5 separate regions of the Homo sapiens genome follow, and all the other regions are linked to region 2. Evidence: promoter capture Hi-C in human tissues and cell types (Jung and others, 2019). All regions are on one chromosome and are shown on one strand. The core of a region is centred on a gene start or on the middle of the fragment in contact, and the rest is flanking DNA. Distances in the headings are between cores, read along the strand shown.

The links. Contacts are between HindIII fragments. The study calls those that stand out against the background at their distance.
Region 1: a fragment that was not itself captured here is called in contact with the fragment with the promoter of GALNT4 in region 2 in 1 of the 25 tissues and cell types used here (dorsolateral prefrontal cortex).
Region 3: a contact is called between a fragment that was not itself captured here and the fragment with the promoter of GALNT4 in region 2, in 1 of the 25 tissues and cell types used here (IMR-90 fibroblasts).
Region 4: a fragment that was not itself captured here is called in contact with the fragment with the promoter of GALNT4 in region 2 in 1 of the 25 tissues and cell types used here (mesenchymal stem cells).
Region 5: a contact is called between a fragment that was not itself captured here and the fragment with the promoter of GALNT4 in region 2, in 1 of the 25 tissues and cell types used here (hippocampus).

What each region holds. Positions count from the first base shown.
Region 1 is chr12:90,847,147-90,849,846 of GRCh38, forward strand. No RefSeq gene overlaps it. Among named protein-coding and RNA genes, the nearest start is that of LINC00615, 70 kb to the right of the region's middle. The HindIII fragment of the contact is 4,404 bases long and covers 1-2,700 here.
Region 2 is chr12:89,523,546-89,526,245 of GRCh38, forward strand. It overlaps GALNT4 (polypeptide N-acetylgalactosaminyltransferase 4), which reads right to left and starts at 1,251. Exons shown (of 1, transcript NM_003774.5): 1 at 1-1,251. The coding sequence starts at 1,004. POC1B-DUSP6 (POC1B-DUSP6 readthrough) reads right to left here and starts at 2,502. Exons shown (of 11, transcript NR_189589.1): 1 at 2,336-2,502; 2 at 1,575-1,659. POC1B (POC1 centriolar protein B) reads right to left here and starts at 2,502. Exons shown (of 12, transcript NM_172240.3): 1 at 2,336-2,502; 2 at 1,575-1,659. The coding sequence starts at 2,350. POC1B-GALNT4 (POC1B-GALNT4 readthrough) reads right to left here. Exons shown (of 3, transcript NM_001199782.1): 1 at 2,336-2,700; 2 at 1,575-1,659; 3 at 1-128. The coding sequence starts at 2,610. It also overlaps POC1B-AS1. RefSeq lists an enhancer at 968-1,177 and silencers at 1,268-1,647, 2,198-2,457. The HindIII fragment of the contact is 7,763 bases long and covers 1-2,700 here.
Region 3 is chr12:88,170,681-88,173,380 of GRCh38, forward strand. TMTC3 (transmembrane O-mannosyltransferase targeting cadherins 3) reads left to right here. Exons shown (of 14, transcript NM_181783.4): 8 at 1,917-2,065. Among named protein-coding and RNA genes, the nearest start is that of TMTC3, 30 kb to the left of the region's middle. The HindIII fragment of the contact is 7,147 bases long and covers 1-2,700 here.
Region 4 is chr12:90,830,718-90,833,417 of GRCh38, forward strand. No RefSeq gene overlaps it. Among named protein-coding and RNA genes, the nearest start is that of LINC00615, 86 kb to the right of the region's middle. The HindIII fragment of the contact is 7,187 bases long and covers 1-2,700 here.
Region 5 is chr12:88,202,766-88,205,465 of GRCh38, forward strand. No RefSeq gene overlaps it. Among named protein-coding and RNA genes, the nearest start is that of TMTC3, 62 kb to the left of the region's middle. The HindIII fragment of the contact is 6,396 bases long and covers 1-2,700 here.

The sequences.
Region 1 (2,700 bases), core at 82-2,581, 1.3 Mb after region 2:
ACCACACCTGACTAATTATTTATTTATTTGTTTATTTATTGATTGATTTTGTAGAAACAGGACCTCACTATGATCCCCAGCCTGGTCTTGAGCTCCTGGACTCAAGTGATTCTCCTGCTTTGGCCTCACAAACTACTGGGATTACAGGCATGAGCCACCATGCGGGGCCCAGTCTGCTTTTAGCCACCCTTATGCATTGGTTACAATCTTGGCGCTCAGAGCAGTAATGAAAGGTATCCCTGTTGGCAAAGGAAAGGCTTTGTCTGTCCTATGCATTAATGAGTTTCACCCTAAACTTAGTAATCTAGTTAAATCCATGTTGATAGGATCCAGAGAAGCTCAAATTGGACGCAAGAGTCAGAATGGTACTGCCTTTAGGATATTAGTGATCACAAACCCCTATCTGGCCCATGTATGAGCCAGTAAAAGAAACACACACACACACAGTCTTTTGAAAGCCATTCCTAAAGTGTTTCCTGTCCATGCTGACTGATCCATCAACTAGACCTGCAGAGAAAAGAAATTGCTACTGATTTCAAAGCCCACTTGGAGAATATATTAGTCCATTCTCACATTGATATAACCAACTACCTGAGATTGCAGAGTTTATGAAAAAAGAGGTTTAATTGACTCACAGTTCTTCAGGCTGTACAGGAAGCATGGATGAAGAAGCCTCAACAAACTTACAATCATGGTGGAAGGCGAAGGGGAGGCAGGCACATCTTCACATAGCAGAGCAGGAGAGAGAGAACAAAGGGGGAAGTGCTACACATTTTTAAACAACTGTTAATGACAACAGATTGTCATTAAATGTCTGCGTTATTTCTTTTTTTTTTTTTTTTTTTTTTTTTTGAGACGGAGTCTCGCTCTGCCGCCCAGGCTGGAGTGCAGTGGCGTGATCTCGGCTCACTGCAAGCTCCGCCTGCCTGGTTTACACCATTCTCCTGCCTCAGCCTCCCGAGTAGCTGGGACTACAGGCCCCGCCACCACGCTCGGCTAATTTTTTTTGTATTTTTAGTAGAGACAGGGTTTCACCGTGTTAGCCAGGATGGTCTCAATCTCCTGACCTCGTGATCCGCCCATCTTGACCTTCCAAAGTGCTGGGATTACAGGCTTGAGCCACTGCGCCCGGCCTAAGTTAAAATACTTTAGCATTAATTGCTGAACATAAGTTTAAAGTATATATATTTTGGCATCTCGTTTTTTATATGGAATAAAGAAGTTGAATGTGTATAAATCCATTAATTAAAGACATAAAAATTGTATTATGAGAGAATGTTTATCTACAAAATGCTAATCTAAAGCAGTTAACAATGCCTACTAGTTTTTAGTAAAAGTTAAAGTTACTAAAAGTTAAAAATTCGGATTATTATATGTAATACAAACTTCTAGAAACAATAAGTGAACGACTCTGTATGCAAGGCAAGTAGGCATGTTTTATAAAGAAAGAAGTATGAGGATGTGTTTTGAAAAGAGAGTAGTTTTTGTCCTAGAGTGACTAATTGCTCCACAATTAAAAAGATAAAGAATATAGGACAAACTGAATATATATATATATATATATGCTGGGTGTGGCGATGCATGCCTATAGTCCCAGCTACTTGAACGGCTGAGGTGGGAGAATCGCTTGAACCTGGGAGGCAGAGGTTGCAGTGAGCTGAGGTTGTGCCACTGCACTCCACCCTGGGTGACAGAGAGAGATTCCAACTCAACAATAACAACAACAACAGAAAAATAAATAAATAAAAGCACCTATATGGCCAATCACTATTCTTACTGTCTTGCTGCACTTATATAAATAGGCCAAGTTTGATGAGACTAAATTTATTTGGTAATCAAATTATTCTTACTCTGATTATCTTCAGTAAAAATTTGGATGACTATAGAGAGAAAAACTATGTTTCAGAAGAAACTATAGTACACCTGTTATTAGATCGTGGCTCTAATCATTGCTTTTGAGTTTCATTATTTACCTATAAATTAAACTGGATCTTGAATTGGTATAGATTCCCACAATCCAATTTTCTCCCACTTTCCTGACTTGGAATCACTAAAAAGAAGAACTGCTCTGTTTCTGAAACACGACAAGCTGTAGATCAACAATTGGATGTAATTTCAGAGGATATCCCTCATGCCTGACGTGTGGGCCACTCAGGAAGTTGCCTGAAATGTCCAATGCCATAAGCAGGGACACTCAAACTGCAAACCGGGAACATATGCCTTGAGCTAAAATCTAGAAACCTTCTTGACTAATTACCCTCTGGACTCAGAGCTGAATTTTTGGTTTATTTTCGTCATTGACCTTTGCTTTTCTTCTGTTTCTTTAGAAATAGTTGATTTGGTTCAAGGGGACCTTGATTAAGGGGCACACTCCACTTTCTTGGTACTATCCTCCTGATAGCCATCATTATAATCGTCCTGGCATGTTATATTTTCTCAAGGGTCTTAAATTTGTGTTTGCAGACATCGACAGTATGCCAGATGGTCTCACTGTGATCAGAGCAACAAAAATAAAATGAAAAACAAAAGGAATCTCTTCAACAAGCCTGATGCCTTAACTTATGAGTTCCACAGAGACAAAGACAACTCTGTCATGATGATCATACAGACTGACTCTCATGCCCGAAATGGTCAATCTCTCATAAATAAGAGGCTCATCAAAAGGAGAGAATTATTTTTTTAAAAAAATCGAATTGGGAA
Region 2 (2,700 bases), core at 1-2,500:
CCCCACACTTCCATTCCTGTGTCATACGTTCCAAGGTACTGAAAATATTTCTTGCTGACAGCAAACAGTCCTCCAGCCATGGTAGGTGATCTGATGGGGTCAATTCTTGATATCCGCCTGTCCCTTTCCTGTTTGGGGACAGAATGCCACTGAAATGTTAAACGCCAGTCAAACCCACCAATCATGGGCTCCCCTATCTGCATATAGAATTCAAAAGTATTCCAATCAATTGTGTCTATAACAGGACACACAACTGCTGTTTCATCTCTCCCAATCCTTTCCAAAAGCGGTTCCAGCCAACCGGAATTACACTCACAGTGACAATCCAGGAAAGTGAGGACGTCCCCAGTGGCGAAAGTGGCCCCAATCAGACGGGCCCTAACCAGCCCCTCTCGCTTATTGGTCCTAATCAAGCGTACTCTATCAAGATTGCTGATGTAAGTTTCAAGTTGTGTCTTCAAATAAACTCTGTCACTCAAGTCATCCACCAAGATGATCTCTTTCAAAAGAACTGCAGGAGAAGTTTCTAAAACACTGTGAATGGTACGGAGCAAAGTCGACCAGGCTTCGTTATAGAAAGCAATGATAACAGAGGTGGTAGGAAGTGTCCTATAGTTGAACTTCTGGGACTTACACTCATACATTCTTTTATCCTCTATGTGTCGATGCAGGGAAATCCTGTCACTGAGGTAAATATTGATGGCGTATCTCTCAATGAGTTCTTCTTGCTGCTTCAGTTCATCCTCGTTGAGCTGGAGTTTGCTGGCTTTCCCCCACTCCCCAAGTGCACGGGAATCTGCAGGGGGCTTCTTATAAAGCGGTCGAGACAAATCCTCCGTATTTTTCTGGAGGTCTGAGAGCCTTCTTGACCCCAGCTCCCTGGCACGGCCGGCTCCTGCGGAGGCATGAAAAGTAGAGACCAAGAGCTCCACGAAGATATAGGCCACTGTTAAAAACGCCAGCAGCAGGCAGCTCTTGCCTGCCCAAGTCCACCTCACCGCCATCCGGATTCTCAGGGCTGAGGCGCAGACGCGGCCACCAAGCCACCACGCAGGGGAAGGGCGGCGGAACCCACAGCTCGAGCTCAGGTACTTCCCAGCAGGTTCTTCCTTTCATGCAGGCGCTAGGCTCCTTTCCAGCCACCCAGGCTTTCCAGGGGTCACCTGAGCCCTCTCGGTCCTCGGCCTCCGGCACAGCCCAACTCCTCTCTCCCTACTTCCTCCTGCTCGGCTCACAACTTTTCACAAACTCTCCAGCCAACACCCCACCCTCCCCGGGCCGAGGAGAAACCCCTCCCCTTCCCACTCACTCCTCCTGGTGGTTAGTTTGCGAAAGTCGTCCGCCAGGCCCAGACCGCTGGATAGGAGGCTCTTGGCCGGGCCGGGGGCTGGGGGCCGGGATGGCAGAGGGGGCCCTAGCTGCGCCCCGCCGCGCTGGGCCCTCGTCTCCGGGTGCTCTCAACCCTCATACAGGCCCTTAGCCGTTCTCCTAGGGACCCTGCCCGGACAGGAGGAAAGGTTTCCGGCCCATGGAGTTTAGTCTCATTACAAAAGCAAAACAAGAATAAGACTTACCAAGTTGCTTGCCGTTGGGGCTGAGGTCCAAGGAGGTGATCGCAGCTTTGTGGCCTTTGAAATAACGCTCCAGAACGGGGTCCTCCTGGAAAGGAAAGTTGTCAAGTTTTGAAAGCCGCCGCAGACCTCGAATTCTGGCGGCTGGGATCCACGCTGCCACTTCCCCGGAGTCCGGCTTGGGAATGGCCACCCAGGCGGCGGCTTGGCTGGGCGGCGGGGCCGGGCAGCAGCCCACCCACGGGCGCGGCGCCCAGTCCTGCTACAGGGAGACGCCGGCGCCAGCTCTCCCCGCAGAGCCCGCAAAACGCTCTGTTCGCGCTTCCCAGAGTCCAGCGCATCGCAGGAACCGCGGCCCCTTTGAAATGCACGTTCCCGGGCCCCGCCCGCTGGCCCAAGGCAGGCAGGTGCGAGGATGCGCCTCGGCTTTGGTACTTTTTTTTTTTTTAATACTTCCTAGGTGATTCTGACGCAGGCGCTCCACGGAAACCCTCCGAGAATTCTGGGGGCCGTGGGGCCGCCCAGCTCAGTCCGGAGCTCCGGAACTCGGGGAAGAGCGTCCGGGAGCCGGGTCTGGGTTCCGCACTCCGTCCGCCCCGATGGCAGAGAGTGAGATACGGACGCCCCGGGACGAGGGGCTCAGGACCCGGCTACGGACACCTGCCTCCATCTCCCTCCAGGTGCGGCTTCGGCCCGGACCTGGCCCCGCAGCCCGCGGGACAGGCTCCAGGGAGGGACCCCCCCCACCTCCAACCCGTCCTTACCGTGGCTGAGGCCATCGGGGGAGTGGTCGGCCCAAGGCTCCTGTGGGTGGGGGAACCCGGAGAGGGGAGGGGAGAGGATGGGGAAGGAGAGGGGACCGTGCGGCTCCCGGAACCGTCTGCCCAGAGCGGCAGCGCCTCCCGGTCACTACAACAACGGCGGCCCAGTCAAACCCCGCGCTCCAGGCATGGCCAGCCGAGCCCCGAGACACCGCCAGCCCTGTAAAGAGAGGACGGGAGGTATGCGCCGGGTCAGCTGTGGCCACACACCAAGCCATGTTAACTAACACTCGCGTTCTCCCTGGTTTGATGTCAGGAAGTGGGGTAGTAACCAGGACTGGAATAAGAGCGATGAATGGAAGGGCGTT
Region 3 (2,700 bases), core at 3-2,502, 1.4 Mb before region 2:
GCCCATTAGAAGAGTCTCAAACTTGTGAAGCTAAAGGTTTAACTTGTTTATTCAATTAAGTACTGTAAAACAAATCGGGGTAACAAAATATGGAAGCAGATGTCCATAGAAACAGATTTCCTAATAACGACCAAACTTATTTCCTTCACAAGCTATTTATGTGCTAGTTTTTTATGGGTGTATAATGTGGAAACCACATGTCATCCCATTTTCAAAATGGTAAGAAATCTAAACATTTTTATGATGTTTCATTTCAATGTTCAGTGTTATATTAATAATTTTAGAAATTCTTGTAGAATGAAAGACTGTTGATTTAAAGGGGGGCAGTTTTATTTTTATGCATACACTAAGCTTCTAGTTAAATACATTTAACCTTTCAGGATGTTATGTGAAGTAATGCTAAGGTACAGTAGTCTGCTATCTTGTCTGAACGACACCTGATTTCATTCCCTCAGTTTCCAATATCATGTGGTTTCTTAAAGTAGTAAAGTTGTAAAAACTGACATGTTTAGCTTTTTTTTAATCAGCATTTGTGGTTTTGTTTTGTTGAAAAACCTATTAGCATATTTCATTATCATCTTATTTTTACCACACGCACATAAGTTAGATGTGTAAAATTTTTATTTATTTAATTTGTATTCCTCCTAACTGAAGTTTTATGCCTTTTGACCAACCTCTCCCCAACCTTCTCCCTCCAACCCTGGTGACCACCATGTACTGTACTTCTGTGAGTTCAACTTTTACAAATTCTACATACAAGTGAGATCATGCGTTGTTTGTCTTTCTGTGGCTGGCTTATTTCTCTTAACATGGTGTCCTCCGGGTTTATCCATGTCAGAAATGACAGGATTTCCTTCTGTTTTAAGGCTAAATAGTATTCTAAAGTGTATATGTACCACATTTTTTTCATCCAGTAATCTGTTGATGGATACTTAGGTTGTTCCCATATCTTGGCTATTGTAAATTGAATAATGCTGCAATGAACAGGGGAGGTCAGATCTCTCTTCAACATACTGACTTCATTTCCTTTGGATCTATACCCAGTAGTGAGGATGCTGGGTCACATGGTAGTTCTATTTTTAATTTTTTGAGAAGCCTTCCTACTGTTTGCTTAATGGCAATGCTAATTTACATCCCACCAACAGTGTGCAAGTGTTTCCTTTACGTTCTTGCCAACATTTGTTATCTTTTGACTTTTTGATAATAGCCATTCTTACAGGTGTGCGATGACATCTCATTGTGGTTTTAATTTTCACTTCCTTAATGATAGTGATGTTGAACATTTATATACTTGATGGCCATTGGCATGTTGTCTTCTGAGGAATATCTATTTAGCTACTTTGCCCATTTTTTAAATTGGGTTGTTTTCTTATGATTGTTTGAGTGTGTTATTTTAGATAGAATTTCAAAAAGTACTTCCACTATTTAACTGGATGAACCTTTATTGTTTAATTTTTGCTTAAAGATGTGAATATTTACATTTATTAAAGTTTTTATATTTTACTATGCAAGCATATTCTTTACAGAAAACCAGTGAGATATAGCTAATTATGCTTCTCAAATTTAAAATGCTGTAATGGTTTAGATTTTAATTTCAAGGAGTAATCACTCCCAAACACACCTAGAAATCTTGTTTTCAAAGTTCATAGATATCCTCTAATTTTAACTTTTAGAATTCAAGATTTCCATTTCACCTTGCTTACGTACATCCTGATGTTTGTTAATGTCTAAGTTGCCTTCTTTATGTTTAAATTAATATTCTTCACAGTATTATTAAAAATAGTTTAGCAGTACACTATCCAGGTTAAATGATAAAATATTTGGATTCAAGTATCAGATGCCCATATATTTCTTAATTTATTATAAATTATTTTAAATTTATTATAAATTATTAAATCTTCTTTTTTTTTTTGTAGGCGCTTTGTTTAATGGCATTACCATTTATTCCTGCATCGAACCTTTTTTTTCCAGTTGGATTTGTTGTTGCCGAGCGAGTATTATATGTTCCCAGCATGGGGTTCTGTATTTTGGTAGCCCATGGATGGCAGAAAATATCAACAAAAAGGTGAATTTAAATGTCAGTTCATGTAATGCTTACTATGGAATTAAGTGTGACACATTTTAAAATTTAAATATTTAGTTCAGTTTTCTAAGTCATGCTTTTGTATCTTTTGGTTTTTCATCTCCATAGTCTCCTCATTTGTCTTGTAAGTCAAGTTAGGAAAGCTCCATGGCACCTACTTATTCTGTGTTCTTCCCTATATTTATGTAATTTGATTTTACAGCCTGAGACAGAACAAACTTTGAGTCAGATCCAAATGAAAACAAGGATGTTACTGAGAATAAAGTCTCAAATGACCATTGCCACTTCCATATTCAGTGAACTAAGATAATAGTCATCCTACTTAAGTGAGTCATATTGAGTTAATATATATAAAATGCATATAGTAAGCAATCTGTAATTTCTTGCTATCATCACTATCTTCATTATAATCTTTGTATCCTAGTTGCCTCAAACTAACAGTTAAGGAACAGCATAGTCACACTGTATATATGCTTAGGAACTATAATTGTTATAGGTATTATCTCATTGTATACTTATGCTGTGGCACTAAAATTATCAAATCAAGCAAATTGTTAAAGGTCAAGTAATACTAATGTAATAATATTGAGTTTGCAACTTGAAAAAGAAATAGTCAC
Region 4 (2,700 bases), core at 158-2,657, 1.3 Mb after region 2:
TAAGGACAGTTGTCCAAGACATATTCTTAGTGAATGACTTTTTTAAAATCAAGGTTTGAAAGAATAAATATGGCTGGGCTCGGTGGCTCACGCCTGTAATCCCAGCACTTTGGGAGGCCGAGGCAGGTGGATCAGGAGATCAGGAGATCGAGACCATCCTGGCTAACACGGTGAAATAAATATATATTTATTTATTTATACTGTGAAGGGAAGGAGGCATTAGAGAATGGTTTAAAACTTGCATTCTTCTGTAATTTTTGTGCCTTATACAATGGTAATGTGCTTACATATTATTTATATTATTTAAAAAAAAGTGTTTTTTTAAAAACTGTAAATTGTGGTAAAGAAAGCAGATAGAGCCTTGTAGAGATTACTCTTGAAAAACCTGTATCAACAAAGACAATCAAATAAATTGAGTTATAGCTGAGGAAAATAGGGGTTCAGATTTATTATATTTTTTAAGATGAAGGACACTGTGTATATGTTAATTGGGAATGATTTTCTGGGTAGAAATATCATATTTCTTCAATTTTAAAATACAGGGGTTTTTTTCACATTTTAGTGATTCTGAATTTGGAATATGTTTCATAATCCATTAAATGAAGTGTAGAGGATTGGCATTAGCTTCTACAAGTCATCTTGAGGCAATATTCACCAAAATCCTTTTTAGATTAAATTTTCCACTTGAGGTCTTTGAAGCTCACTTGTGTTCAATTCTTGGGCTATTTCCCCCCTCCTCTTTTCATTCTGTGTCAAGGTTAAAATTGGCACATTCCATTGCTTTCCCTTTCTGCCTAGTAGGCTTTTGTCCTCACACATCCTTACATTGAAGATGAAGGCCTTTGATGTTCAAGTATTTGGGAATTTTTTATTAGCTTTCCTGTCTTCAAGCATATATTTTTTATCTCTGTGAAATGCAGATAAAGGCTATTATAAAAGTGGTAACAAAAAACAAATTAAGAAATGTTGATGAGGATGTAAAAAAAACAATCAAAACTCTTCTGCATTGCTGGTGAGTAGGTAAAATGCTGCAGTCTCTATGGAAAATGATATAGTAGGTCTTCAAAAAAATTAAACATAGAATTACTCTGTGATACAGCAATTCCACTACTAGGTATGCATTTAAAAGAATTGAAGGCACACCCATGTTTATAGCACCATTATTCACGGTAGTCAGAAGGTAGAATATTCCCAAGTGTCAATCAACAGGTGACTGGATAAACAAAATGTGGTACATACATGTGACAGAGTATAATCAGCCCTAAAAAGGAAGGACATGCTGACATATGCTATAGCACAGGTGGGACTTAATGACATTATGCTAAGTGAAATCACCCAGTGATGAAGAAAACATAATGTATGATTCCACTTATCTGAGATACCTAAAGGTACCTCAAGATGTAACTCACGAGGTCTTATTTATAGAGACAGAAAGCAGAATGGTAGTGCTAGGGCAAGGGAGGTAGGAGTAGGGGAAAATGGGGAGTAATTGTTTAATGGGTATGTCATTTCTATTTGGGAGGATGAAAGAAGTTTTGGAGATGGACGATGATCATACAAAAATGTGAATGTTCTTGTTGTCACTGAACTACACACTTAAAAATGGTTTACATAGCAAATTCTGTGTTTTGTATATTTTACCAGGATTAAAGAAAATAAAATAAATGTACATAAAGTAATGGCACAACCTATATTTAATGGCAGCTTAGATTTAAAGGAATGTTAAAAGCTCCAAAGAGAGAAGGAAACACAATACTTGAGAAGCAAGATTCAGCTCAGAAGTGCAGGGCTGGCCTTCAACAGGAGGAAGAAAAGGTCCATCAGCAGCAGGGAGAGACAAAAGGTGGCAGGGGCAGGTATGTTCACAGATGGATTAATATGAAAATGAGGGAGTTTCCTTCTCAATGCCATCTTACTTCTAAACAACGTATGAAGTGAGGTCATCAGGTGAGAGGGAAGTGTAGGCACGGAGGTGTGTGACATGTGAGAAGAGACCCTAGAAGTAGTAGTTATCCCAAAGAATGGGAAGTTAGCCCCACAGAAAAACATAAATACGCTTGTCAGTAGTACTGAGTCCCCACTTGAGAACATAAAGTACAATCAGTCTGAATAATTGTGTTAGTTATTCCAGCAAAGTTCACCTGTCTGTGTGCAAATAAGAGGAAACACAATTAGGTTGCTTCAGGATCAAGGTTGTGCAAGTTTAGAACAATGGCAAGAAGGAAGCAAGTGAGGAAATTGGGGATCATTTACATATATATATTTAAATGATTGACTATTGATTTCTCCATTTTGAAATGGGGATAATAGATCTTACCTCATACAGTTGGGTGAGTTGAATGTAAAGCATGTACAACTCTTTAAACAGTGTGTCTGGTAAAGTATTTAATACACATCAAATATTGTTACTGTCATATTACCATGGGTTATGAAATATATGCTAGACAATGAAGAAAGTGAAGACAGGTGAAAGCTGATGAATAATAAGAAAGCAGTCAGTCAGCAGATTAGACGTTTGGTGAGAACAGCAATAAAAATAATTATATTGAGGACTTTTGAACAAACAAGCCAGTTAAAAGTTTGAATGCCTGGAGAGCTTGACAAGAGATTGGTAGGAGGCAAAGGAGTGGGTAATTAGGGAGGCAAAGGAGTGGGTAATATAACCTGATAGCATAGGCTTCAAACGAGCAAGGGTTTGCA
Region 5 (2,700 bases), core at 176-2,675, 1.3 Mb before region 2:
AATATGACTAATAAGACAAAAATAGCAGCATACATACCAATTATCCGAATAAATACTAAGGTTACCAAATACTTTAAAATAACTATAGTAAAAAGAAAAGACTATTAGGGCATTCTTGCATTGGTGTGGAAAAAAAAAACAGACTGAGTAATTTATTTTAAAAGAGAGGTTTAATTGGCTCACAATGTATAAGCATGGTGCTGGCATCTGCTTGGCTTCTATGGAGGGCTCAGGGAGCTTTTACTTATGGTAGAAGGTGAAGCAGGAGCAGGCACACCATATGGCAAGAGCAGGAGCAATAGGAGTGGGGGAAGCACCACACACTTTTTAAACAACTAAATCTCATGATAACTCACTCACTAGTGAGGAGATCACCAAGTGGATGGTGCTAAACCATTAATAAGAAATTCACCTTTATGGTCCAGTCACCTCCCACATTAGAGATTACAGTTGAACATGAGATTTGGGGGGACAAATATCAAAATTATGTCAATCCATCCCTGGCCCCCCAAATTTCATGTTCTTCTCACATTGCTAAATATAATCATGCCTCCCCAATAGTCCGCAAAAGTCTTAACTCATTCCAGCATTAACTCAAAATTTCCAGGTCAAGTCCCTTCTACCTATGAGCCTGTAAAATCAAAACAAATTATTTACTTCCAAGATACAATGGAGATACAGACATTGGGTAAACATTCCCATTCCAAAAGGGAGAAAATGCCCAAAAGAAAGGAGCTACAGGCCCCTCACAACTGCGAAATCCAGCAGGCCCATCATTAAATCATAAAACTCCAACATAATCTCCTTTGACTCCATGTCCCATATCCAGGGCACACTGATATGAGGGGTGGGCTCCCAAGACCTTGGGCACCTCTACCCAATGGAGCTTTGCAGGATTTAGCCCCTGAGGCTGCTCTCATGGGTTGGAGTCAAGTGTCTGTGGCTTTCCAAATGAAGGGTGAAAGTCTCCAGTGGATCAACCATGTTCAGGCCTGGAAGATACTGGTCTTCTTCCCTTCCCACAGTTTCACTAAGCAGTGTCCCAAGTGAAAATTCTGGGTGGGGCCTCCAACCCCACATTTCCCCTCTGCACTACCTTAGTAGAAGTTCTCTGTGAGGGCTCCACCCATGCAGCAGGCATCTGCCAGGACCCCATGGTTTTCCATACTGATATGGTTTGTCTGGGAGGTAATTGAATCATGGGGGCAGGTCTGTCCTGTGCTGTTCTCATCACAGTGAATACATTTCATGAGACCTAATGATTATATAAGGAGAAGTTTCCCTAAACAAGCTCTCTTCTCTTGTCTGCCACCATGTGAGATGTGCCTTTCATCTCCCGCCATGATTGTGAGGCCTCCCCAGCCACGTGGAACTAAGTCCATTAAACCTCTTTCTTTTGTAAATTGCCCAGTCTCGAGTATGTCTTTATCAGCAGTGTGAAAACAGACTAATACAGTAAATTGGTACCAGTAGAGTGGGGTGCTGCTAAAAAGATACCCAAAGATGTGGAAACAACTTTGGAACTGAGTAACAGGCAGAGGTTGGAACAGTTTGGAGGGCTCAGAAGACAGGAAAATGTGGGAAAGTTTGGAACTCCCTAGAGATTTGTTGAATGGCTTTGACCAAAATGCTGATAATGATATGAGCAATGAAATCCAGGCTGAAGTGGTCTCAGATGGAGATGAGGAACTTGTTGGGAACTGGAGCAAAGGTGACTCTTGTTATGTTTTAGCAAAGAGACTGGAGGCATTTTTCCCCTGTCCTAGAGATCTGTGGAACTTTGACGTTGAGAAAGATGATTTGGGGTATGTGGCAGAAGAAATTTCTAAGCAGCAAAGCATTCAAGAGGTGATTTGTGTGCTGTTAAAGGAATTTAGTTTTTAAAGTGAAAAAGAGCATACATGTTTGCAGAATTTGCAGCCTGACAGTGTAGTAGAAAAGAAAATCCCATTTTCTAAGGAGAAATTCAACCCAGCTGCAGAAATTTACATAAGTAACTAGAAGCCAAATTAATCCCCAAGACAATGTGGGAAATGTCTCCAGGGCATGTCAGAGGTCTTCATGGCAGCCCTTCCCATCATGGACCTGAAGGTCTAGGGAAAAAAAAAATGGTTTAGTGGGCCAAGCCCAGAGTGTCTGTGCTGTGTGTAGCCTAGGGACTTGGTGTCCTGTGTTCCAGCCACTCCAGCCATGACTAAAAGGGACCAAGGTACAGCTCGGGCCATGGCTTCAGAGGCTACAAGCCCCAAGCCTTTGCAACTTTCACATGTTGTTCAGTCTGCAGGTACACAGAAGTCAAGAATTGAGGTTTGGGAACCTCCGAGTAGATTTCAGAAGACGTATGGAAACGCCTGGATGCCCAGGCAGGTTTGCTGCTGGGGCAGGGCCCTCATGGAGAACCTCTGCTAGGGCAGGACAGAAGGGAAATGTGGGGTTGGAGCCTCCACACAGAGTCCCTACTGGGGCACTGCCTAGTGGAGCTGTGAGAAGAGGGCCACCATCCTCCAGAACCCAGAATGGTAGATCTACCAACAGCTTGCATTGTGCACCTGAAAAAGCTGTGGACACTCAACACCAGCCCATGAAAGCAGCCAGGAAGGAGGCTGTACCCCAAAAAGCCACAGAGGCAGAGCTGCCCAGGACCATGAGAACCCATCTCCTGAATCAGTGTGACCTGCATGTGAGACATGGAGTCAAAGG